7 separate regions of the Homo sapiens genome follow, and all the other regions are linked to region 2. Evidence: promoter capture Hi-C in 16 types of primary human blood cells and fetal thymus (Javierre and others, 2016). All regions are on one chromosome and are shown on one strand. The core of a region is centred on a gene start or on the middle of the fragment in contact, and the rest is flanking DNA. Distances in the headings are between cores, read along the strand shown.

Evidence for each region. Contacts are between HindIII fragments. The CHiCAGO score rates a contact against its expected background, and 5 or more counts as called.
Region 1: a contact is called between a fragment that was not itself captured here and the fragment with the promoter of PIGA in region 2, in 7 of 17 cell types (non-activated CD4 T cells, fetal thymus, activated CD4 T cells and 4 more). The highest score is 9.4, in non-activated CD4 T cells.
Region 3: a contact is called between a fragment that was not itself captured here and the fragment with the promoter of PIGA in region 2, in 5 of 17 cell types (non-activated CD4 T cells, naive CD4 T cells, neutrophils and 2 more). The highest score is 10.3, in non-activated CD4 T cells.
Region 4: a contact is called between a fragment that was not itself captured here and the fragment with the promoter of PIGA in region 2, in 4 of 17 cell types (non-activated CD4 T cells, naive CD8 T cells, total B cells and 1 more). The highest score is 6.8, in non-activated CD4 T cells.
Region 5: a fragment that was not itself captured here is called in contact with the fragment with the promoter of PIGA in region 2 in 1 of 17 cell types (non-activated CD4 T cells); the score reaches 5.5 in non-activated CD4 T cells.
Region 6: a contact is called between the fragment with the promoter of TRAPPC2 here and the fragment with the promoter of PIGA in region 2, in 13 of 17 cell types (fetal thymus, non-activated CD4 T cells, naive B cells and 10 more). The highest score is 19.7, in fetal thymus.
Region 7: a contact is called between a fragment that was not itself captured here and the fragment with the promoter of PIGA in region 2, in 4 of 17 cell types (naive CD8 T cells, total B cells, non-activated CD4 T cells and 1 more). The highest score is 8.7, in naive CD8 T cells.

Annotation. Positions count from the first base shown.
Region 1 is chrX:16,947,965-16,951,054 of GRCh38, forward strand. The region is part of intron 1 of REPS2 (RALBP1 associated Eps domain containing 2); the gene reads left to right. Among named protein-coding and RNA genes, the nearest start is that of REPS2, 2.9 kb to the left of the region's middle. The HindIII fragment of the contact is 2,316 bases long and covers 98-2,413 here.
Region 2 is chrX:15,333,824-15,337,024 of GRCh38, forward strand. It overlaps PIGA (phosphatidylinositol glycan anchor biosynthesis class A), which reads right to left and starts at 1,700. Exons shown (of 6, transcript NM_002641.4): 1 at 1,678-1,700. RefSeq lists enhancers at 1,452-1,501, 1,552-1,631. The HindIII fragment of the contact is 3,001 bases long and covers 96-3,096 here.
Region 3 is chrX:13,692,092-13,695,301 of GRCh38, forward strand. The region is part of intron 1 of RAB9A (RAB9A, member RAS oncogene family); the gene reads left to right. Among named protein-coding and RNA genes, the nearest start is that of RAB9A, 4.6 kb to the left of the region's middle. RefSeq lists a silencer at 1-167. The HindIII fragment of the contact is 2,934 bases long and covers 1-2,729 here.
Region 4 is chrX:13,673,772-13,676,807 of GRCh38, forward strand. No RefSeq gene overlaps it. Among named protein-coding and RNA genes, the nearest start is that of RAB9A, 14 kb to the right of the region's middle. The HindIII fragment of the contact is 4,024 bases long and covers 1-3,036 here.
Region 5 is chrX:13,710,876-13,713,833 of GRCh38, forward strand. TRAPPC2 (trafficking protein particle complex subunit 2) reads right to left here. Exons shown (of 6, transcript NM_001011658.4): 6 at 1,370-2,958. Among named protein-coding and RNA genes, the nearest start is that of TRAPPC2, 22 kb to the right of the region's middle. The HindIII fragment of the contact is 202 bases long and covers 1,443-1,644 here.
Region 6 is chrX:13,732,848-13,736,003 of GRCh38, forward strand. TRAPPC2 (trafficking protein particle complex subunit 2) reads right to left here and starts at 1,773. Exons shown (of 6, transcript NM_001011658.4): 1 at 1,678-1,773; 2 at 1,197-1,338. It overlaps OFD1 (OFD1 centriole and centriolar satellite protein), which reads left to right and starts at 1,901. Exons shown (of 23, transcript NM_003611.3): 1 at 1,901-2,236; 2 at 2,401-2,499. The coding sequence starts at 2,225. RefSeq lists enhancers at 1,275-2,474, 2,243-2,814. The HindIII fragment of the contact is 7,868 bases long and covers 1-3,156 here.
Region 7 is chrX:13,644,610-13,647,780 of GRCh38, forward strand. No RefSeq gene overlaps it. Among named protein-coding and RNA genes, the nearest start is that of TCEANC, 6.9 kb to the right of the region's middle. The HindIII fragment of the contact is 5,934 bases long and covers 1-3,171 here.

The DNA of each region.
Region 1 (3,090 bases), core at 6-2,505, 1.6 Mb after region 2:
GGAGAAAGACTACTTGATAAGCCTTTGTCTGTCATTTCATGTCACCAGCACTTCATGGTGATAAGACTGTTAATATCAGGTTCAAAACGTGAAATGAAGCTTTTCCTAAAAGCAATAGTATGAATGTTATTAACACCAATGGAATATTTAGAGTGGCGAGTGGTATTTTAAAATCTAGTTTCAAAGGAGAACTGAGGGTTTTATGGTTCACTTGCAATGTCATTGTGTTCATACGTATTTTTAAAAAAATTGCTTAAGACTGCGTTTTATACTGCTGGAGTGTTTTTACTGCTATATGTTTGTGAGCATAACTTTAGACACTTTGTAATCTTTCACCCTTTTGAATTTGGGATTTCTGAAACTGTAACTAGTATTCACAGAACTTAGCATGGCTGTTTATCCCTAAAGAAGTCCTTGATATGTAGACAGTTCTGCCATTGCTGATGAGTAGTTGAGCTGGATCAGGTAAAGAGAAAGTCAGTGTCTTAAAACACAAACCGTGGCTATTACATGAGGCCCTCAGAATAGTCCCGAGCATAATACATTTATTCAGTGCTGTAGCTGCTTCCCAGCTGAAAGAGGAATAATTGACTGAGGCTATGCAGCAAGTAAGTGACAGCTGGGTACCTATTAAGGCTTATTTTGTTGTCAGTAATGCATCGGATAAGAGGAGGTGGGCATAGTAAATCTGAATATGTTGGTTGATGCCTCTTTAGGAATTGGGAAGAAGGATTTCCTGATGTTAGAACCCATGCTTTCTTGAGGTACATATAGTTTTAAAAGGACCCAAGGCACAGTGGCTGTGCGTGAATGAGATTATATTTTTGATGTCCAGTTGAAATCTGCTTGCAAAAGACTGCTTCAGATACTGGCAAAAGGGGACATCCCTGCGAGATTGCTTGGAGTAAATCTCTCAGAGCTCGAAGCTCCCTTATTCAGCCTAGCAAAGCAAAACACATCATCCACCTTTAATCCAACAAAATTACCATAACTCAATATTCTTGGTACAGGTGAAAATGAACATTGAAGGCATCCTGGACATGTGATCCTAAGAGAGTCAAACAAAGTCAGCAACCAGCAGACACCTAATTTTCACCCATCACTTTGGTGGTGGTGGTGGTGGTGGTGGTGGTGGTGGTGTGTGTATGCTCCATCCACTTTAATTTGCATTACCCCATCAGTGTATTAGCCATTCTTTAAAACAAACGTAGATGTTTTTACCCTTTCTCTGTTAAACAGGAACCTGTAAGTTGAGATTTAAGTGCCCCAACAGGTATAACTGCTCAAATCTTGGAGGCACTAACCAGTCCTGATATTTTCTATGGTAACAACCAGGTTTTCCTCTTAATAAGCATACAATTAAGATTACCATAATAATGTTCCAGGAAGAGTGAGAATCTTGCATTCTTACCACAAGTAAATGGTCTATAAAAATACTTATTTTTTATTTATTTATTTTTTGAGATGGAGTCTCGTTCTGTTGCCCAGGCTGGAGTGCGGTGGCGTGATCTTGGCTCACTGCAACCTCTGCCTCCCGGGTTCAAGCGATTCTTCCGCCTCAGCCTCCTGAGTAGCTGGGACTACAGGCGCACGCCACCTCTCCCGGCTAATTTTTGCATTTTTAGTAGAGACGGCGTTTTGCCATGTTGGCCAGGCTGGTCTCGAACTCCTGACTTCAGGTGATCCACCCGCCTCAGCCTCCCAAAGTGCTGGGATTACAGGCGTGAGCCACCATGCCTGGCCTTAACATATTTTTTAATAGACTATTTTTTTTTTTCAGAGCAGTTTTAGGTTCACAGCAAAATTTAGCAGAGTACCCATATATCCCCTGCCCCGACACACCCGTAGCTTTCCTTACTCTCAACGTCCCACATCAGAATAATAGAGTTTTTACAATTGATGAACCTACATTGACACCTCATTATTCCCCAAAGTCTATATATTAGGGCTCACTCTTGGTGTTGTACATTCTGTGGGTTTGGACAAATGTATAATGACGGTTCCACCATTGTAGTATCATACAGAATAGTTTCACTGCTCTAAAAATCTGTGCTCTATTGATTCATCCCTCCCTCTCCACTAACATGTGGCAATCACTGATTTTTTTTTTTTTTTTACTGTCCCCATAGTTTTGCCTTTTTTAGAATGTCATATAGTTGGAGTCATACAGTATATAGGCTTTTCACTTTGGCTTCTTTCATGTAGTACTATGCACTTAAAATTCCTTCATGTCTTTTTATGGTTTGGTGGCTCATTTCTTTATAGTGCTGAATAATATTCCATTGTCTGCATGTACTACAATTTATTTATTCACCTACTGAAGGATATCTTGGTTGCTTCCAAGTTTGGGCAATTATGGATAAAGCTGTTATAAACATCTGTATGCAGCCTTTTTTGTTACATGCAGGAGATAAGCTTTTGACTCATTTGGGTAAATAGCAAGGGGCATGATTGCTAGATTGTATGGTGAGAGTATATTTAGTTTTATAAGAAACTGCCAAACTGCTTTCCAAAGTGATTGTACCATTTTGCGTTCCCATCAGCAATGCATTGGTTTCTTTACAGAGTATTTATTTTCCTTTGCTGACTTATTTTAACAGCAGGATTCTAGCACTAGGTGGAAAACGTATATGAGTTTCTGATGTGTGTCAGGTACTGTCCTAGGTGCTGAGGTTATAATAGTGAATCCAACACAATCTCTGTCTTCATGGAGCTTATGTTCTCATGTGAATGTTTTTACACTTCAGAGTTTTTATTTGGTTGAGAAAAGACTTGAAATATAACATCCAAAAATAAAATGTCAGCCTGGTGCTGTGGCGCACGCCTGTAGTCCCAGTGCTTTGGGAGACCAAGGATGGGAGGATTGCTTGAGGCCAGGACTTTGAGATCAGCCTGGGTAACATAGTGAGACCCTGTCTCTACACAAAATAAAATAGCCGGGCATGGTGGCATGCGCTTGTAGTCCTAGCTACTCTGGAGGCTGAGGCAGGAGAATTGCTTGAGCCCAGGAGTTCAAGGTTATAGTGAACTATGATCGCACCATTGCTCTCCAGCGTAGGCAACAGAGCAAAACCCTGTATCAAAATAAAG
Region 2 (3,201 bases), core at 450-2,949:
GGTGTCTAAAGATAAAGGCTAAACTAGAGATGGGCTGTATCTGGGACCATTTTCTCAATTTAAAGTGCGAAATGTTTATCTCAGGGGTCCCCTAAAGCTTTATTAATGTGAAATGCCCACTCAATATTTAGTACTACTGTACATTCTTAGACACTTAAAGCTAAAAAGAATCTTGGATATCTAGTCAAAATCTTCCTCAGCTTTACAAATGAGATTTCCAAGGCTCCAGAAAACAAACAACTATACAATGAGAAGCCATCCTAAAGCTCTGAGTTTCCGGTTTCACCTGCAAACTCAGAAAATGCCAATTAACTGTATGTGCAAAGGCTTAACTGTCTAGTCTCTCCAACAAATTCATCTACTTTTTTTTTTTTTTTTTTTTTTTGAGACGGAGTCTCACTCTGTTGCCCAGGCTAGTGTGCAGTGGAGCGATCTCGTCTCACTGCAGCCTCTGCCTCCCGAGTTCAAGCGATTCTCCCACTTCAGCCTCCTGAATAGCTGGAATTACAGGCGCACACCACAAGCCCAGCTAATTTTTGTATTTTTAGTAGAGACGGGGTTTCATCATGTTGGCCAGGCTGGTCTCGAACCCCTGACCTCAGGTGATCCACCAGCCTCGGCCTCCCAAAGTGCTGGGATTACAGGTGTGAGCCACCGTGCCCGGCCTCATCTACATTTTAAATATACTCTCGGAAAGACCCCAGAAGTGTTTGTTGACTGAGTTTACTAATTAAGATTCAATATTACCAAATATTGAAATTCCCCAAGTTTGTACTTTTAGGTGGCTTAACTAACATTTTCTTACTGTGGTCACCTAAACCCGAACTTCCAGTTCTACCAGTTTTAAAAGATGAACGATAGCAAAAACAGTGAGTAATGAACCAAATGATATCATTTAAAATGTTGTCATTAGCCTGCAACGTTCTGTGAGGAGTCTGCCCACTTCCGCCAGGTTTTCAGTCCAAACATCTTTGACATAAAAGTTCATTATGCTGCACAATCGCAGAATCTTAGCTCTTAAAGCCGAAATGAGGCTTGGAGCTCTAGTGAATACCTCTCTCGTTTTACAAATGAGAACCCAGACAAGTTGAGTGATTTGTCCAAGGTTCCCACCCAGCCACTTAAAGTGGCAAAGACATTACCGTAAAATTCTCGACCACGACCAACGAGCCCTGGGCAATCATTAGCAGTAGAGGTTCCTGAAGAACCTTAGGGAGACCTGGCAGGAGTTGTGGGTCAAGAGAATGGTACTTCCACCGACAATTCCTGGGCACTGTCTGAGCTTCATTCCCTGATTCCCTGAGAGGTCGCTGGGGAAACGCTCGGGCCAAGGAGGGGATACCCCTGCTCAGACAGCGACCCCGCTGGGTTCATGGCGGGGATGGCCAGGCCCAAAGAGAGAAAGAAAACAACCAAAGAGTGGACGTTGGTCTCAGGCCCGGGGTTCCGGAGACCCCAGTCCCTCGACCCACCCGCCTGAGCCAAGGAACCCAGCGCGTCCGCCCTAAACGCACCCTCAGCCCCAACCTACTCTGGAGACCCTCCGACCCAACTTCCGGGCTTCGAACCGGGTCGGTTTCACCCCCTCCACCACCCGCCACGATCCCACGCGCGCAGAACAGCCCCATCCGAAAGCGGCCCAGAGCGCTGGAGAGGGGCGGCGCGACGCGCACTCACCGGTGAGTTCCATGGCCGCCAGTGTCCGGACCTCCCGCGGCTGCAGCCGGAGTCCCTCCCTGCTGTTCCGCAGCACCAATCTAGGGCGTCCGCGCCCAAGGGCCGCGCCCCCGAGGCAGCCAATCACAAAGAGGCGCTGAGGTCACGTCCGAGAGAGACGCTCTGTCGTCCCCACCCTTAAGCGCGAGATGTAACGTCAGCGCGCGCCTGCGCCCGTCTCCTAGAAGCGGCCGACGGTAGGGTGGGTGCTCACCCTGGTTTCCTGGTTACAGCGTCTCTATTCCGGACGCCAGTTCTCTGCGCGCTTGCTTCTGATTGGAGAGACTTTTTGTTTGTAATCAGCTGTGCCACGGCAAAACCGTGCCGGTTCTTACCGCTCTGGGACGTTTGCCAGATAAATAAATAAAAATACACAAAAAGTCAAAACAGATGAAACTATGAAGTTTTAATTTCAGATAAAGCACAAATGATGTTTAATACAAGCATGTACCAAATATTGGGGACTTCACTACACATTCGTTTTTTATCGGACATGTAAATTTAACTAGACATCCTGTTATTTATATGGCAATTCTACACTCTGAGGGAAACATACGAGGTCTGATCTGAAATATCAACTCCCACTCGACTGGTTCAACTAGTTACGATGGTGCTTGACTAGGAAGCTAAAGAATCAGTGAGAGTGGTATGACGGTCATCCATGCGTCACAGCTGGTACTTGGAATCCCCCATCCCTGCCATACGTGCGTTTTCGAGAAGAAATTCCTTTCTGAGTACCATCACAGCCACCGTTACTGGCACCCATTTTATTAAGCCTAGTGTAAGCCTATTCATCCCTGAAAATGTCTGCTCCTTTCTGATGCTTTCCCCAAGCCTCCAGAGAATGAAATACTCTCACTTTTTAATTTTAATAGTACTTTGGCCACATGCTGGCCAAAGTATAACATTTATCAGATGATATTCAAGTTGTTTGCCTGATTGCATTCTCCCTCCTCACCCTGATCCTTGATTACTTGTCTCTTGAGATCTCACATGGACTTCTTTCTGAAAACGGAAATTGTATTTGCTTGTTAAATGTCTGCCTTCCCTGCCAGATAGTAAACTGAGGCAGGATCTGTTCTTGGTAATGGATGTTGAGGAAGTTTTAGTTTAATACATGAATTTCTTTACCCAATGTCAGCACACTCCCTGACACATATTAGATGCTCACAATAAAATGTATTGACAGTATTTCGTGGAGTGTACCTTATACAAATTACAGTGCAATAACATCATTGAAAGAGCATTTTAGTTGTGAGATTTGAAGCGAATTAATGAGTTGATGAGTAAGACTAGAGTAGCAATCGATACTTTGCCCTGTGTTAATATTGATGAAGCATCGGAGAATTACAGTGATGAAGACTCAAGGACACTTAATTAAGCTTTATAATTTGTAGTTGGTTTCACAGATAACAGCGACATTACCAGATAGGTACAGCATTTGGCCTCCTTTCCATTTTTGTAATAGGTTTTAAGACAAAGAGT
Region 3 (3,210 bases), core at 13-2,512, 1.6 Mb before region 2:
CAGAAGTTTGAGACCAGCCTGGGCAACATAGTGAGACCCCCGTCTCTACAAAAAATAAATTAAAAAAAAAATTAGCCTAGCTCAGTGTGGTGGTGCATGTCCCAGCTACTCTGGAGGCTGAGGCAGAAGGACGACTTGAGCCCTGGAGTTCAAGGCTGCAGTGAGTCATGATCACACCACTGCATTCCAGCCTGGGCGATAGAGTGAGACCTTGTCGCTAAAAAAATAACAATAATTAAAGAAAACAACTCCACACTCGGCACAGAAGTACCTGTGTCATGGTGTTTACTGTGGGCAGACTTAAATAAAATGGGGAAAACTTGATGTGTGTGTTATAGTTTTGTACGGTTAACCACGTGTGAATATTTACAAGAATCAAATTGAGAAGCCATTCTTGTTGAGCATAAAATTCATCCTTAAATTTCACCTCACCAGACAAATAGTTATGCCTGCATTTTATCACTGGAATCGAGAAAGAAATGATGAATTTTTTAATGGCTTTTCCATAACTTTCTGGTGTTTTCTGGTCTCTTTTTCATGCCTGTCTAAGATCAGGCCTTTCAAAATATGTACTGCTTCATTCTGGTGGCAGTATTAACTGTTAGGTGAACTTTGGGAGGGAGTGGTTGACTGGAGCAGTCAAAAAGGATCGCATCTCTTTTTAGGCATCACTGAGTGTTATTCACGCAATCAACATGGCATCTTTTTGTCGGTAGCTTTGGTTTTTGACTCATGCCAATGCACAGCACGTTCTTTGCTGATGAATAGATTTCTCTGCCTCTTATCAGGAGTTGTCTGCTGTGGGGTAGGGAGGATGTTGAGTTACACACCTCAAAATGATTGCTAGTGCATACACATGGAATCTAACAAAAGTGACGTGTTTTATTCTGGGAAAGGTCGAGATAAATTGGTGCTAGAGTTGTCTTGTTTGATCATTAATTGGCTTGCTCCTCCAGCCAACTTAGGTCACCACATTTCCTTCTGGGTAAAATGAGATGGCTGTGCTTCATAATCTCTAGGAGATTATATGTCACAAAGTAGAGGCAGCAAATTATTAGCTTCCAAGTAGTTCTGCCCAGGCAATGTGTTAAGCAGCAGGAGGAGGAAGTAAGCCAAATGGAAGTGTGTGTGTGTTTGGGCAACGCATCTAACTTGAAAGGTGTATAGATAATAGACTCTTCAGTCAGAACCAAGCATAAGAGAATAGGATTTGTGACTAAGTAGGCCATCAACAGAGAACATTTATTAAGGACTTTTTTGTAGAGGAGTGAGGGTGAACTCAAAAAATGTTTCAGGGAGTTTGGTGGAAAGCTATGATGCAATTGGAAGGCGAGGATGCCTGAGGGAGGAGACGTGGAGCCACCTAGGTGTGTAGGCAGAGGGGAGGGAGGTCGGAGGCGGTCCCAGGCCGTGTTGCCAGAGAGCCCAGGGGTGCCAGGGCTAGTTAGATAACTTGGAGGAGAAATCTCTGTTTCTCACCATGACTCTTGGTACTGTGCATGTTGTGAAGCTGTGTGCTCTGGGTATTTCCACATTCTGGATTTTTCAAATCCTTTTGTTAATTTTTGACCATGGTGAGTTCAGGCGTTGTTATTATGTTGCTTATTATGAATACAGTGAGGATGACTAGGTGTAAATGAATGTAAGGTAACAGCTAGATCTGCCTGAGGTGGAGAGAGACTGGGTGTGTATTTTGGAAAAAAAATGGAGAAGTGAAACAGGCTGTTCAGGCTTCACATTCTGGCTGCATGGAAGCCAGCTCATTGCATTCTCCAGGAGTTCTCTGGGAGTCTGTGGACACAGACTCCACTTTTGTCTTAGGCCTGACTCGTACAAACATATTCTGTTGTTTGACAGGGGATGGAGAAACACTATAGAACAACTGGACACATTCATTTCATTGCCACATTCTTTATTCAAGTGTGACAGAGAGCAAAACAGTATAAAGGAGTTGAACTGACTACTGTATTTTAATTTCAAGTTCCTGTGAATTGGATTAGATTTTTGGGTACAGAAGCTAAGGTAATTTCCAAAAGGTTAGTGCCCATAAGACTGTCTATGTTCTCAGAGTTAGAAAAACCTGGGAAAAAAAAAAGCCTTACAGACCTCTGTTTCTACAACTTGCTGTGCAGAACTCTAACAGATAGGAGTGTTTATGCAGCTAGGTGACTGCTCTGGTCTGTGCAGTTTCACACCTGTGTATTTGATCAGATGTATATACCTGGAAATACATACATAATGTGGTTGGAAGTCAGATTAGAACTGCCTGAGGACTACCCATTGGTGAATGCAGAACATTCTTTGGAATGAGTGCTAGTATTCTTAAATAACATTTAAAAATAGTTGTTTGGGAGCAAACAGTTGCCACCCTCATAATCCACTTTAATTTGTGCCCAGTACTTGATTTTTATCACAGCAGTCCTGGAAAACCTAGCTTCATGAAGATATGATGTCATCGAAAGGAATGCAGTGCAATCTAATTAACTCCCCTCCAGTGGGGTGCCCTACAAATGTCAAGTATCTATGTTTCCCTCAGAAATTTAAAATAGCCCACCCTGCCCTTGTGAATTTGCCGTGATGCTTTGGGGCACCTCAGCATGCAGTTTGGGAACCTCAGGATTAGAAGTTGGTATTATTGGCTCTAGTTTATGGACTACAAGGTATAGTGGTGAGGAGAAAAGGCATCAAAGTCCGTTTTTAATTCTCCATCCCCCCTTCCAGTATCTGTAAGCTTTTCCCTTGGGCCCCTCATTTCCCCCAGAGCTTTGCAGTTTTGGGATGCTACCCTTTTAGTTGCTAAGCTGAGGGGAGGGACAGACAGGAAAGAGACTGCAGTTCAGGTTTCCTGTGCAAATCGTCCCTCCAGCTCCACTTTCCTTTGTGCTTTCTCTCCATTTTCTGCTGGGTGCAATTCCTTAGGAAGTGGGTCTGCTAGGGTAGCACAGGGATGTGGGTCATGGAATCTACAGCCTTTCAGGGACCCCTCGAGCCTCCGGACCCGGCCTGTCTGGAGAAGTCTCGAGAAGTGCCCGTGTGCTGTTCAGTTCTTTTCCAGTTCTCTGGTGGGAATCAGCTTTCTCATTGTTGGCTGCTGCTTTCCGCATTAGGTTTCATTGTCTCTTCACTCTGTCACTCCCGGACCATTTGCTTTCCACTTTCTAAATTTTGTTGCTGTCTTGCATCTACAGTTGTTCTTTCTTGGTGTCCTTT
Region 4 (3,036 bases), core at 83-2,582, 1.7 Mb before region 2:
CTGCAACCTCTGCCTTCCGGGTTCAAGCAATTCTCCTGCCTCAGCCTCCTGAGTAGCTGGGATTACAGGCACCTGCAACTACGCCCAGCTAATTTTTTGTATTTTTAGTAGAGACGAGGTTTCACCATATTGGCCAGGCTGGTCTCCATATCCTGACCTCGTGATTCACCTGCCTTGGCCTCCCAAAGCGCTGGGATTACAGGAGTGAGCCACCACCACGCCTGGCCTCTGATTTTTTTTTTCTTTTATTATTATACTTTAAGTTTTAGGGTACATGTGCACATTGTGCAGGTTAGTTACATATGTATACATGTGCCACGCTGGTGCGCTGCACCCACTAACTCGTCATCTAGCATTAGGTATATCTCCCAATGCTATCCCTCCCCCCTCCCCCCACCCCACAACAGTCCCCAGAGTGTGATGTTCCCCTTCCTGTGGCCATGTGATCTCATTGTTTAATTCCCACCTATGAGTGAGAATATGCGGTGTTTGGTTTTTTGTTCTTGCGATAGTTTACTGAGAATGATGATTTCCAATTTCATCCATGTCCCTACAAAGGACATGAACTCATCATTTTTTATGGCTGCATAGTATTCCATGGTGTATATGTGCCACATTTTCTTAATCCAGTCTATCATTGTTGGACATTTGGGTTGGTTCCAAGTCTTTGCTATTGTGAGTAGTGCCGCAATAAACATACGTGTGCATGTGTCTTTAAAGCAGCATGATTTATAGTCCTTTGGGTATATACCCAGTAATGGGATGGCTGGGTCAAATGGTATTTCTAGTTCTAGATCCCTGAGGAATCGCCACACTGACTTCCACAATGGTTGAACTAGTTTACAGTCCCACCAACAGTGTAAAAGTGTTCCTATTTCTCCACATCCTCTCCAGCACCTGTTGTTTCCTGACTTTTTAATGATTGCCATTCTAACTGGTGTGAGATGGTATCTCATTGTGGTTTTGATTTGCATTTCTCTGATGGCCAGTGATGATGAGCATTTTTTCATGTGTTTTTTGGCTGCATAAATGTCTTCTTTTGAGAAGTGTCTGTTCATGTCCTCCGCCCACTTTTTGATGGTGTTGTTTGTTTTTTTCTTGTAAATTTGTTTGAGTTCATTGTAGATTCTGGATATTAGCCCTTTGTCAGATGAGTAGGTTGCAAAAATTTTCTCCAATTTTGTAGGTTGCCTGTTCACTCTGATGGTAGTTTCTTTTGCTGTACAGAAGCTCTTTAGTTTAATTAGATCCCATTTGTCAATTTTGTCTTTTGTTGCCATTGCTTTTGGTGTTTTAGACATGAAGTCCTTGACCATGCCTTAATAGAGCTTATTCACCATTGAAATACAATGCCCTGGCTGGGCGTGGTGGCTCACACCTGTAATCCCAGCACTGGAGGCCGAGGTGGGTGGATCACTTGAGGTCAGGAGTTTGAGACCAGACTGGCCAACATGGTGAAACCCAGTCTCTACTAAAAATACAAAAATTAGCCAGGCATGGTGGCATGTGCCTGTAATCCCAGCTACTTGGGAGCCCAAGGCCCCGGAGAATGGCTTGAACCCGGGAGGTGGAGGTTGCAGTGAGCCAAGACCATGCCACTGCACTACAGTCTGGGTGACAGAGCAAGACCATGTCAAAAAAAAGAAAGAAAGAAAGAGAGAAAGAGAGAGAGGGAAAGAAAGAAAGAAAGAAAGAAAGAAAGAAAGAAAGAAAGAAAGAAAGAAAGAAAGGAAAGAAAGGAAAGAAAGGAAAGAAAGGAAAGAAAGGAAAGAAAGGAAGGAAAGAAAGGAAAGAAAGAAAAGAAAGAAAAAGAAAAGAAAGAAAGAGAAAGAAAGAAATACAATGCCTTGCTCTTGCTCACGGGGTCAGAGATTTTTGTCTTTTTGGTTCACAGCTTATCTCCAGCCCCTAGAATAGTTCTGGCACACAGAGTGCCCTCAAGAAATATTTGTTGAATGAGTGCACCTAAGAAATTTGGAAGAGCCAGGAATATGACAGATCAACACATACGCACATTTAGGTAAAAGATTAGGCCGGGCACGGTGGCTCACACCTGTAATCCCAGCACTTTGGGAGGCCGAGGCGGGCAGATCATGAGGTCAGGAGATTGAGACAATACTGACTAACACGGTGAAACCCTGTCTCTACTAAAAATACAAAAAATTAGCCAGGCGTGGTGGCAGGCGCCTGTAGTCCCAGCTACTCGGGAGGCTGAGGCAGGAGAATGGCGTGAACCCGGGAGGTGGAGCTTGCAGTGAGCCGAGACCGCGCCACTGCACTCCAGCCTGGGCGACAGAGCGAGACTCCATCTCAAAAAAATAAAAAATAAATAAAAAATTTTTAAAAAAGATTGAAAACAAGCTCAGAGGGAGTGATTGTAGTTTATGACAGGCAAAACAATTTGAGAGTGGAAAGAATGGGCAATTGGAAAAGAGAGAGCATTTTTTTTCCCCAGAACATTTTGGAGCTTTTCTTCTCCATGTATGTAGTATCTTTGAGTAAACCTCACATATACTATAAAGTCTTAGGCCATATATGCTCAAACTCTATTATAAAGCTAATTGTTCAATTGTCTTATAATCCTTCCCTTTCTTGTGTGTTATTTTCTGTTTTAATGTTCAATAGCATTGTTAGAAAGAAAAGGAGATTAAAAAAATTCTATTTGTTCACTGTTTTACTTGCCGGAAGACCCTGCAGGTACTTAAGGAATATAGTTGAAAAGGTTATTAAAATTGTTTGGTGATTTTGTGGTTGTTGACTTAGTTGTCTGTTAGCATGCATTACAGACTGTACTTGGCTATATGTTAGTAATTCTAGAAGTGACTCTTTGAAAATAATTTTCCCCAAATCATATACATAAACACTATTTGTAACTCACGAGTTTTTTAAAGTTTATATGCATTTATTTTTGTTATAATTCAGTGGCTTTTAGTATATTCACAAAGTTGTGCGATTATCATCATTATCTAATTCCAGAATGTTTTCATTACCCCAAGAAGGAATCCAGTACCAGTTAATAGCCACTCTCTATTCCAC
Region 5 (2,958 bases), core at 294-2,793, 1.6 Mb before region 2:
GGTGGAGGTTGCAGTGAGCCGAGATCACATCACTGCACTCCAGCCTGGTGACAGTGAGACTCCACCTCAAAAAAAAAAAAAAAAAAAAAAAAAGCAAACTACTGAACTGGAGAACAGACAAACCTGCATTTGTTAACTGATGTAACAATTACAATGTGCTGTGTGGAAGATACAAAATTACAATTCATTAATGGACTAAATGTTTTTATTTTTCACCCTTGGGGAAAGTTTCCTAGTTGAAGTTAAAACATTCCTACTATTACTTGTCTTAGAAGAAAACCTTTTTATATTTCTGTACAAACTTTTCATTTTAATATTGTGACACCACCATGCAAGTTCTCACACAATATCCGTGTCTTGTAGAGTAGTGAAGTGTTTGTTAAGTAGAAAAACACACCAGTGTGGTACCCAGTGAAAGGTGGTGTCTGGAGAGTCAGTGGTTTCTGGAACTCTGGACTGTCAACCAGGAAGTGTTGAAGTGACTGAAAAATTAAAGCACATGGGTAATAGCATGGGCAGAGCAGAGACTGAGACGATCTATGTCCATGCCAAAGGAAGCATCCTAGTAAGTTTCTGGCTATGGCAAGATGACAAAACTCGGTGTACGTTTTATCTGGATCACTTTTGGAGCACTAAAGCAGATAACCAACTTTGTGCTAACATACATGTGCTCAGGAGAGCCTGATTTTAAGACTGACTTCACCCCATTGCTCTTGTGTTCCAGAACCTTCAAGGAACATCACCTACCAGATCCAAGCTTTGCCAGCTTAGCTTTCCTCATGATCAGCTCCTATCTATCTATCAATCAATCAGCTGTCAGTTCCACCCATGTGCCCAAGTGCTCTTCACACCTTCACACCTGCAATGCTTTCCTGTGCAGCCTACCTTGGAGGTCCCACTCAATGCTCCACTTCCCTTCCAGCTCCTTTGAAGACTCAGTCACACATGAAATTTGGCATTTAACTTTAGTAATATACTCACAAGTGTGTTACTAGTGCCTACCTCACCTTCACCAGCCTGGAGAAAAGGCTATTTTCAGGGTACCACTGTTGTGCAGCTGAGCCAAGTCTTCCTGCTCTCAATCAATCACCCTGCTGCTCTTGGCTGCCCTGCATCACAGCCCTCTGGATGATATGCTCATTGAGGGAGGGGCCAACTATATACAAAAAAATACACGTTTGCTGAAATTACTCCTAGATTTCTAGATGAGTATGTAAATTTTTCTGCTCCCAAAGCTCTGGCATCTAGTTTGAGTCAATCTGAGCTCTATAACAGGTGAAGACATCATATTAGTTTGCAGACTAGACTATCAATAGGAGAAATAGGACGAAAGCAGCACTTTAAAAATGGATATTAAACTACCACGATCTTGAGCAAACATCTTTATTTAAGAAATCAAATAGGGTAAAAATTATGCAATTTCACACAAGGATACAAGACAAAGCTTAGAATTACTTGCTCAAAAGTTACTCAGAATGGAACAAAATTGTTCAAGTGCTCCCAATTAGCACAGGCTGTATTACTTGCTTTTCAATGGACATTTACTATTTTACATTAAGATCTACTTATAGGAACAAAGAGACAATTCCCAGCCCCCTCTGGTGTATCACCTAAAAGACTGAATACAAATGTTAATGTAATCCAAGCTTTTCTTTGACAACAATACTAAAAATTGCCTTACAATTTTTTACAAGTACGAGTATCAACAGTTTACTGTCTGAGGGAAAGGAAATATAAGAATATAAAGTGACAGAAGCAACACACTTCACTGTGGCCTGCAACTGCTCCCAGCGTCCTATTTTATAAACATGATTTGGGTTCTCACATTATAGCAGGATCACTATTCCTAGCCTCTGGTGGAAGCAGACATGTGACACTTAGCACTGCACAAGTGTTTCTTTGGCTTCTTGAGTAGTGCTGTGTATACTGCCTATACATTTTTATAACATCTCTAAATGCATAATGTCAACGTATGTGCTATCACATTTCACTCCCAACTGCAGAATATTTTAATTTTAAATTTATCTACCAAATCTTGACTATGACATTTATTTTTGGGTTGTTACATTAAGATCAACCTATCTGGGCCGGGCACGGTGGCTCACACCTGTAATCCCAGCACTTTGGGAGGCTGAGGCAGGAGAATTGCTTGAAGTCAGGAGGCAGAGGTTACGGTGAAACAACTGCCATTGCACTCCAGCCTGGACAACAGAGCGAAACTCCATCTCAAAAAAAAAAAAAAAACCCCAAAGATCAACCTATCTGAATTGGGTAAGTCAAAAGCTTATTCCTGGCCGGGCACGGTGGTTCATGCCTGTAATCCTAGCACTTTGGGAGGCTGAGGCGGGTGGATCAACTGAGGTCAGGAGTTTGAAACCAGCCCGGCCAAAATAGCGAAACCCCGTCTCTACTAAAAACACAAAAATTAGCCAGGTGTGGTGGTGCATGCCTGTAATCCCAGCTACTCGGGAGGCTGAAGAAGGAGAATTGCTTGAACCCAGGAGGTGGAGGTTGCAGTGAGCCAAGACTGTGCCACTGCACTCCAGCCTGCACAACAGGAGCAAGACTCCATCTCAAAAAAACAAAAAACAAAAAACAAAAACAAAAACCCACAAAAAACCAAAAAGCTTATTCCCAATTTTTAAGTAAAAATATTTCATGGCCGGGCGTGGTGGCTCACACGCCTGTAATCCCAGCACTTCCTGAGGTGGGTGGATCACGAGGTCAGGAGTTCAAGACCAGCCTGACCAATATGGTGAAACCCTGTCTCTACTAAAAATACAAAAATTAGCCAGGTGTGGTGGTGCACGCCTATAATCTCAGCTACTCGGGAGGCTGAAGAAGGAGAATTGCTTGAACCCGGGAGGTGGAGGTTGCAGTGAGCCAAGATCGTGCCACTGCACTACAGCCTGCACAACAGGAGCAAGACTCCATCTCAAAAAAAAAAAAAGCGAGCTT
Region 6 (3,156 bases), core at 523-3,022, 1.6 Mb before region 2:
AAGAGCTTCTAGAAAAACTGCCCTGTGCTCGCGAGAGCAGTGATTTCAGTTGTTCCATAAACCTGGGGTCATGAGACTAAACTGGTATGGCATGGGACATGTCTATTACAATGAGGAGGGGCAGTAGGAATACTACTGATAGGTCTTTAATGTGACATTTTTCTATTAATATTATAAGCAATTCTCCCTCCCCTAGAAGTTATGCTAGTTTTTGGAGAACATTTTATCTAATTATATTCATGTATTCAACTGTGGGACCAAAGGTGGAGGTGGGAGTAAGGGGGTCTTCAGGAACATTTTTTTTTTTTAAACAGTGGACAAGTGATTCTACTTAACAACATTTACAACATATCAACATCTTTTTAGAACACTGTTTTCATCATTCCACTCAAAAGCCTTTGATGCATCTCAGCTACAGGATCATGTACTAGTATTCAAGATTCCCACATTGCTCCACGTGTCTTTTCTCAGCCCTATTGTTCCACCTCTGCTAGCGTTGACTCGTTTACTTATTTTTTCTCCCAAATTCACTTTGACTATATCGAGTTCAGAGCTACTATCATTTCTCTCTTCATGCCTGGAATGTTCTCCTTTATTCTGTCTGCAACCACTACCCATCCTTTAAAATCCAACTAAGCCTCTCCTCCTTTTCCATTGTTTCCAACAAAAACTTACAGGTTCTCCACCTCCTATGAAGTCCTGTCACTCTTACTGCCTCTTAAATACTTTAAGTTTTTCACAGCCAGAGATCAAAACTCATCGTACTCATCTTCAATGCTGTACACAAAGCTGACATCCAATTCTGTCCTCACAGGACTTAGATACCATATAAGGCTTATATTCCCAGCACACAACTCTGGAGTCAGGCTAGATTCCTCACTGCTCCCAAGAAGGTCGTGGCTTTTTTTTTTCTTTTAATGATTCCTTTGCTCATTTTTCCCCTTCCTGTGATGTTCTCCTTTTTGCTCACCACCCGAATCCTACCCATCAAGGCCCCGATAAAGACACACTTTTTCCACAGAGATGATCTGGATCACTTCCATCTTCAACCACCTCCCCTTTAAACTCTTTATCCAGTCTACAATGTATCTTAGTTCTTGTTCAATTCTCTGGCTGTAACATTTTCATTATCGCTTCTGAGAGGTTTGGTTCCTTTCCTTTCTAATTACATTTAAGCATCATGAGGACTGGCTCACCTTTACCTCACAGCACACAATGGTTGGTACTCTAAAACGTTTAGCTCTGTGGATCTCAACCCGGAGCGATCTTGCTTCCAAGAGGACATCTGGCAATATCTGGAGACATCTTTGGTTGTCACACTTGGGGGAGAAGGTGATACTGACAAAATAGAGAGCAAGGATACAGCTAAACCTACAATGCACAGGACAGCCTCCCAAAACAAAGAATCTTCCGGCTCCAAAAGGCAACAGTGCAGCCGTTAAGAAACCCTGGGTTAGCTGAATGACCCAGTGAACCGCGAAACCACAGCCCCCGAGAGGGCGGACGTCTGCAGGTGGAAGGGCTGCGCGGATGAGCCAGCGGAGGGCTGGCAGGTCCGGCCCGGCCACCCCGGGGAGGGGTGGAGGTACAGGACCAACATCCGCGTCACGCAGGGGCTACGAAGTCCTCCAGGGACTCAAAACACCCGCCCCCCGCCGCACTTGCTCCATTCCCTACCTGCAGTGGGAGGCCGACAACGGAAACGCAATGTCAGTTTCCGCGGAAGAGACCCGCGCCCCGAACCTGTAGCCAGAACGCCGAAGCAGTTCTCGCGATACCCTGGGATGTGCTCTCGCGATACGTAGGCGGAGCTTCCGGCCGGTGCTGGGCAACCAAGCTCATGCGCCGTAGCTCTTCAGCTCGGGAAGGCTATATTTAGCAGGTTTCCGGAAGTTGCCGGACTGGCTGTGAGGCGGTCCTGCCTCGCTGCCTTCAGTCCCTAGTGTCTGGGTCCCCGCCCTCCAGCCGCCTTTGAGTCGTGCCTGGGTCCTCGCCCTTGCCTCAGAACCGCGAAGAAAGGAAGCTCGCGTGTTTGCTAGAAAACCTAGTTGGGAGTGCGAGGCAGAGAACGTTCAGCACCTTTGTTCCTCCCGAACCCTCGGGACAGAGGCAGGGTTCTGAGGGCAGGGATTCCCCCTCGTCTTGGCCCCACCGCCCGGGCTGGGCACTAAACTCGGGCCGCGGCGGGGCGAGCGAGGCGGGCTCCGGAGGGAGCTGACGCCTGATGATGGCGCAGGTAGACACACCTGCCCCTTCTCGGGCGGAAATAAAGTCTTGTTTTGTGTTCGTTAAACTTTCGCCGCTAGGCCTCTTATGGCTTCCCCGGAGGCCACTGGTCTGTTTTCAGACGTTCACGTTCCCTCTGCCCCGCAGGTAACCTATAACCATTTTGTCTTTTAGTCCAACATGTTTACCGTGGCTGATGTGTTGAGTCAAGATGAACTGCGCAAAAAGCTATACCAGACGTTTAAGGATCGGGGTATACTGGATACACTCAAGGTATCGGATTTAGGCGTATCTGTGTCAGCTTTTACAAGTGTAACCTGTAACAGGTAGTTCAAATTCAATCAAGGTTTAGGTTTTAATAATCGTATGATACATAGATTGTATTGGTGAATTACATTTTTATATTCCCGAATAACTCTGTATCCTGAAACATTACAGTCTCTTGAAAATGTTTGAGAAAATGTTGAGTTTGAGTCGTCTTAAAGGAGCATATTCAAATAATTAATTGAACTGACAATAAGATAGGAGAAGGAAATATTTGTATAATGAACACAGTAAGATTAGGCTTGTTTTATAAATATGGCTTATAGGTTCCTAAATTAATAAGTGGGTTTGTAATACATTTGGATGAAGGACATTGACACCATATAGAAAATACTAGTGTACTGCTTAATAATAGTTTGGGAAATGAAAAATTTTATCTTTAAACTATATTGAAATGTATGAATGTTTAGTTTGGGCAGAAAATACCTATTAGTATGCTTTATATTTGGATTAACAGCCAGGAGTAGGATTAGCTCAACGTGTTTTCATTGAAATATGCATTTCAAAAGCATATTTTACGTTTAAAATATGTAGCTATATCCTGTGTATGTATCCTTTTTTAATTTAAATTATATGGTGAGCATTTCCCTGTTTCCTTAAAAGTTT
Region 7 (3,171 bases), core at 263-2,762, 1.7 Mb before region 2:
TTTTTAGAAATCTGGCATTTTTAAATGTCATATCTATGCTTCATAAAAAATTCTAGTATTAATATGCACATGAAAAAAATCTGTAAAATGATTTATAGATGTAAAATAGACTTACATCTTGGGAGGCAGTAGTATAGACTTACATCTTGGGAGGCAGTAGTATAGACTTACATCTTGGGAGGCAGTAGTATGGTGTGGTGGTGAGTCTGCCTGGGGCCAGAAAGAGCTGCCCCTAAGTGGGCTTAAGACAGAAAGGTTACATATGCATAAGATAGAGGGGTTACATATGCATATTTTTGACCAAAATAATTATCTTGTGTATATCTTTAATCAATTTGGTAGTGTCATATAAATTGTTTTACATTTCTATGTTGTCTTATTTGTTTGTTTGGTTTGGTTTCCTCCACTCTGTGGCCACTAAGAGTGCTGAATGTCATTAGGTAAGAGCTAATTACCCTTTCTTTCTCAATAATTTCTTTGACGGCCTATATATTTATTTTAATGACAATGTTGCTCAAAACACATTTGAAATTGCCTTTTTCAGGTACACAAATCATACAAGAGACTTGGCATTGTCAATTTATGGTTAAAATTTTTGGTCATCATTTATGACCAAAAATAGCATTACCAACCCAGAATTCCACTGCTAGGTATATACCTAATAGAAATGAATAGTAGCACTATTTGTATTAGTCCCAGTGGAACAACCCAAATATCCATAATGTCCATTGTTAGAATGGATGCACTGTAGTGTATTCATTCAATAAAGGACTATGAAGACATGAGAATGAATAGCTTAACGCTGCCCACAGCAACACAGACAAATTTCAAAAATATGTAATTGATCAAAAGAAGCCAGAAAGTACATACTGTACACTTCCATTTACTTAAGTTTCAAAATCAGGCAAAATTAATCTATAGCGGTAAAGTTGGGATTCTGTTTATGCTTTTACCCGTGGTGGGGGCGGGATGCTGGAAGGGAACACAAGGGGAGAATTTCTGGGGGGCTGGTAATTCTGCTTCATGGTGCCTTTTGAATGGACATGTTCACTGTGAAAATTAACAAGCAGTACACTTACGATTTGTACACTGACTTTTCTATATATGTGTCATACTTCAGTAAGAACTTCTTTCAAAAATAAAAGTATTACTCCCCCTACCCCTTAAGATGAACCTCTTCTGTCTGACATTGTGCTGAATGACTCGGGACACCTAGAGTGAATTCAGCTCTCAGCGCCAGGTAGGTTGTGGCTGAAGCTACACAGACTCAGGTATAATCCAGCCACGGATGACTTTTGTTGTGGGTGTTCACTGGCCTGCCATCCAGGCTGCTGGAGGTGAATGGCATGGGAATCTGGAGAGGAAGTTCAACGGGCCCAGGGGCTGAAGTTTGAGGAAATATTCCTGCTGCTCAAGAGCCTGGAACTCTCACCTGCCCCACATCTATTAGTCTTTCTGGACAATGATGGAAGTTTCTACGTCTCCCTTTTCTATCCCTGTTACTTCTTTTAAAAGTCTTTTTCCTCCTAGGATTAGTCCAGGCTATCCTCACCCAGCTCTCCTGATGAATGTGAACGGCTTTCCACTTGCATCAGTTTTTTGGAGTCTTCTCTCAGAGTTCCAGCAGTGCCCCCTTGTGACTGCATGTGTGTGGCTGCCACCAGGCAAACAGCAGAGCTGTTTCCAGGATCTCCTCCTACTCCCTCTTTGCTCCATTTCTTCTCCTCCCTGGTGTTTTATGAACTCATGCTTCTTTCTGGGTACCCAGAACCTTCCAATTCAGTCACCCTTAAGATCTCGAAGAATCCAATCTTGCAGACCTTTCATTCCCTCCCAATTCTCCCCATCAACATTTACTTATCCTATGTCCCATTCCATTGGTCTCTGACAAGGGAGACGATCCTTACAATATAACTCAGGCATAGCAAATAAACAGCTTCAAGTGTAACCTTTCCTAAGTAATAGTTGCTGTTTTATAATAGCAGCTTTCAATGTCTTCATCCAAAGGAATGAGTAAGAAAGGAATTCTAGCACCATGGTAAGGTCAGGGGTTCTCTTCTGATGTCCCTCAAATCACACAGCCATATTAAGACAGGCTGTGTCAGTTAGTGTTTACTGTTAGCAAGCCACCAAAACAGACCCAGCAGAGGGAAGTTATAGTAAGGATAGCAGGAATGTACAGGTGGAGGGAGAGACCAGCCAGCCAGCTTTGGAAATGGGCCGCTGGGCTAGAAGCAGAACTGTGGGAAAGGAGCCATTGGAGGAATGGTCTCATAAGGACACCACCCTCATCTTAATGATCTTTCACCATGTTTAGACTCCACATCATTCTGCTTAAAATTCACATTCCAGGGAGGATGTGCAATCGGGCCAGCTGGGGTCATCTGGCTGCCACCTGGCTAGGGCAGAATAGGCACCTGATTGGCTGTTTGGAAGGTGTGCTGAAGCTGGGTGGTCCAAACTCACCAAAGCCCACCATGTGAATGAACCCCATCATGCAAATCTGAGATCGAGTACATGTAATTATCCCAGGCCACATACCAGTGTAATAGATCTACTCTCATAACGACAAAAGAGTTGACAACTTCATTCTCTTCAGCAACCAGAAACCTAGGTGGGGTCTGAGTCAAGGTTTGAAATGAAGAACAACTAATATAAACATTATTGCCAGGCACAGTGGCTCACGCCTGTAATCCCAGCACTTTGGGAGGCCGAGGCAGGTGGATCACTTGAGATCAGGAGTTCCAGACCAGCCTGGCCAACATGGTGAAACCCTATCTCTACTAAAAATACCAAAAAAATCAGCCTGGTGTGGTGGCACCTGCCTGTAATCCCAGCTACTCGAGAGGCTGAGGCAGGAGAATTGCTTGAACCCAGGAGGCAGAGGTTGCGGTGAGCCAAGATCACGCCACTGCACTCCAGCCTGGGTGACAGAGTGAGACTCTGTCTCAAAAATAAATGACTAAAATTTTTTTTAAAAAAAACATTATTATATGAGCCAAATAGTGCAGCAACTCCATGTACTAGGTTTTTGTGAGAAAATGAGGCTGAAATGGCAAAGCGCTTCTCTTGGGCACTGTAAATCAGAACGGTATACTTCTGGCCAAATGTGTCTCCCACTGAAGACTAAGAAGAGAACATGGCTGTCCTTTATATTGTCACTGTTGATAA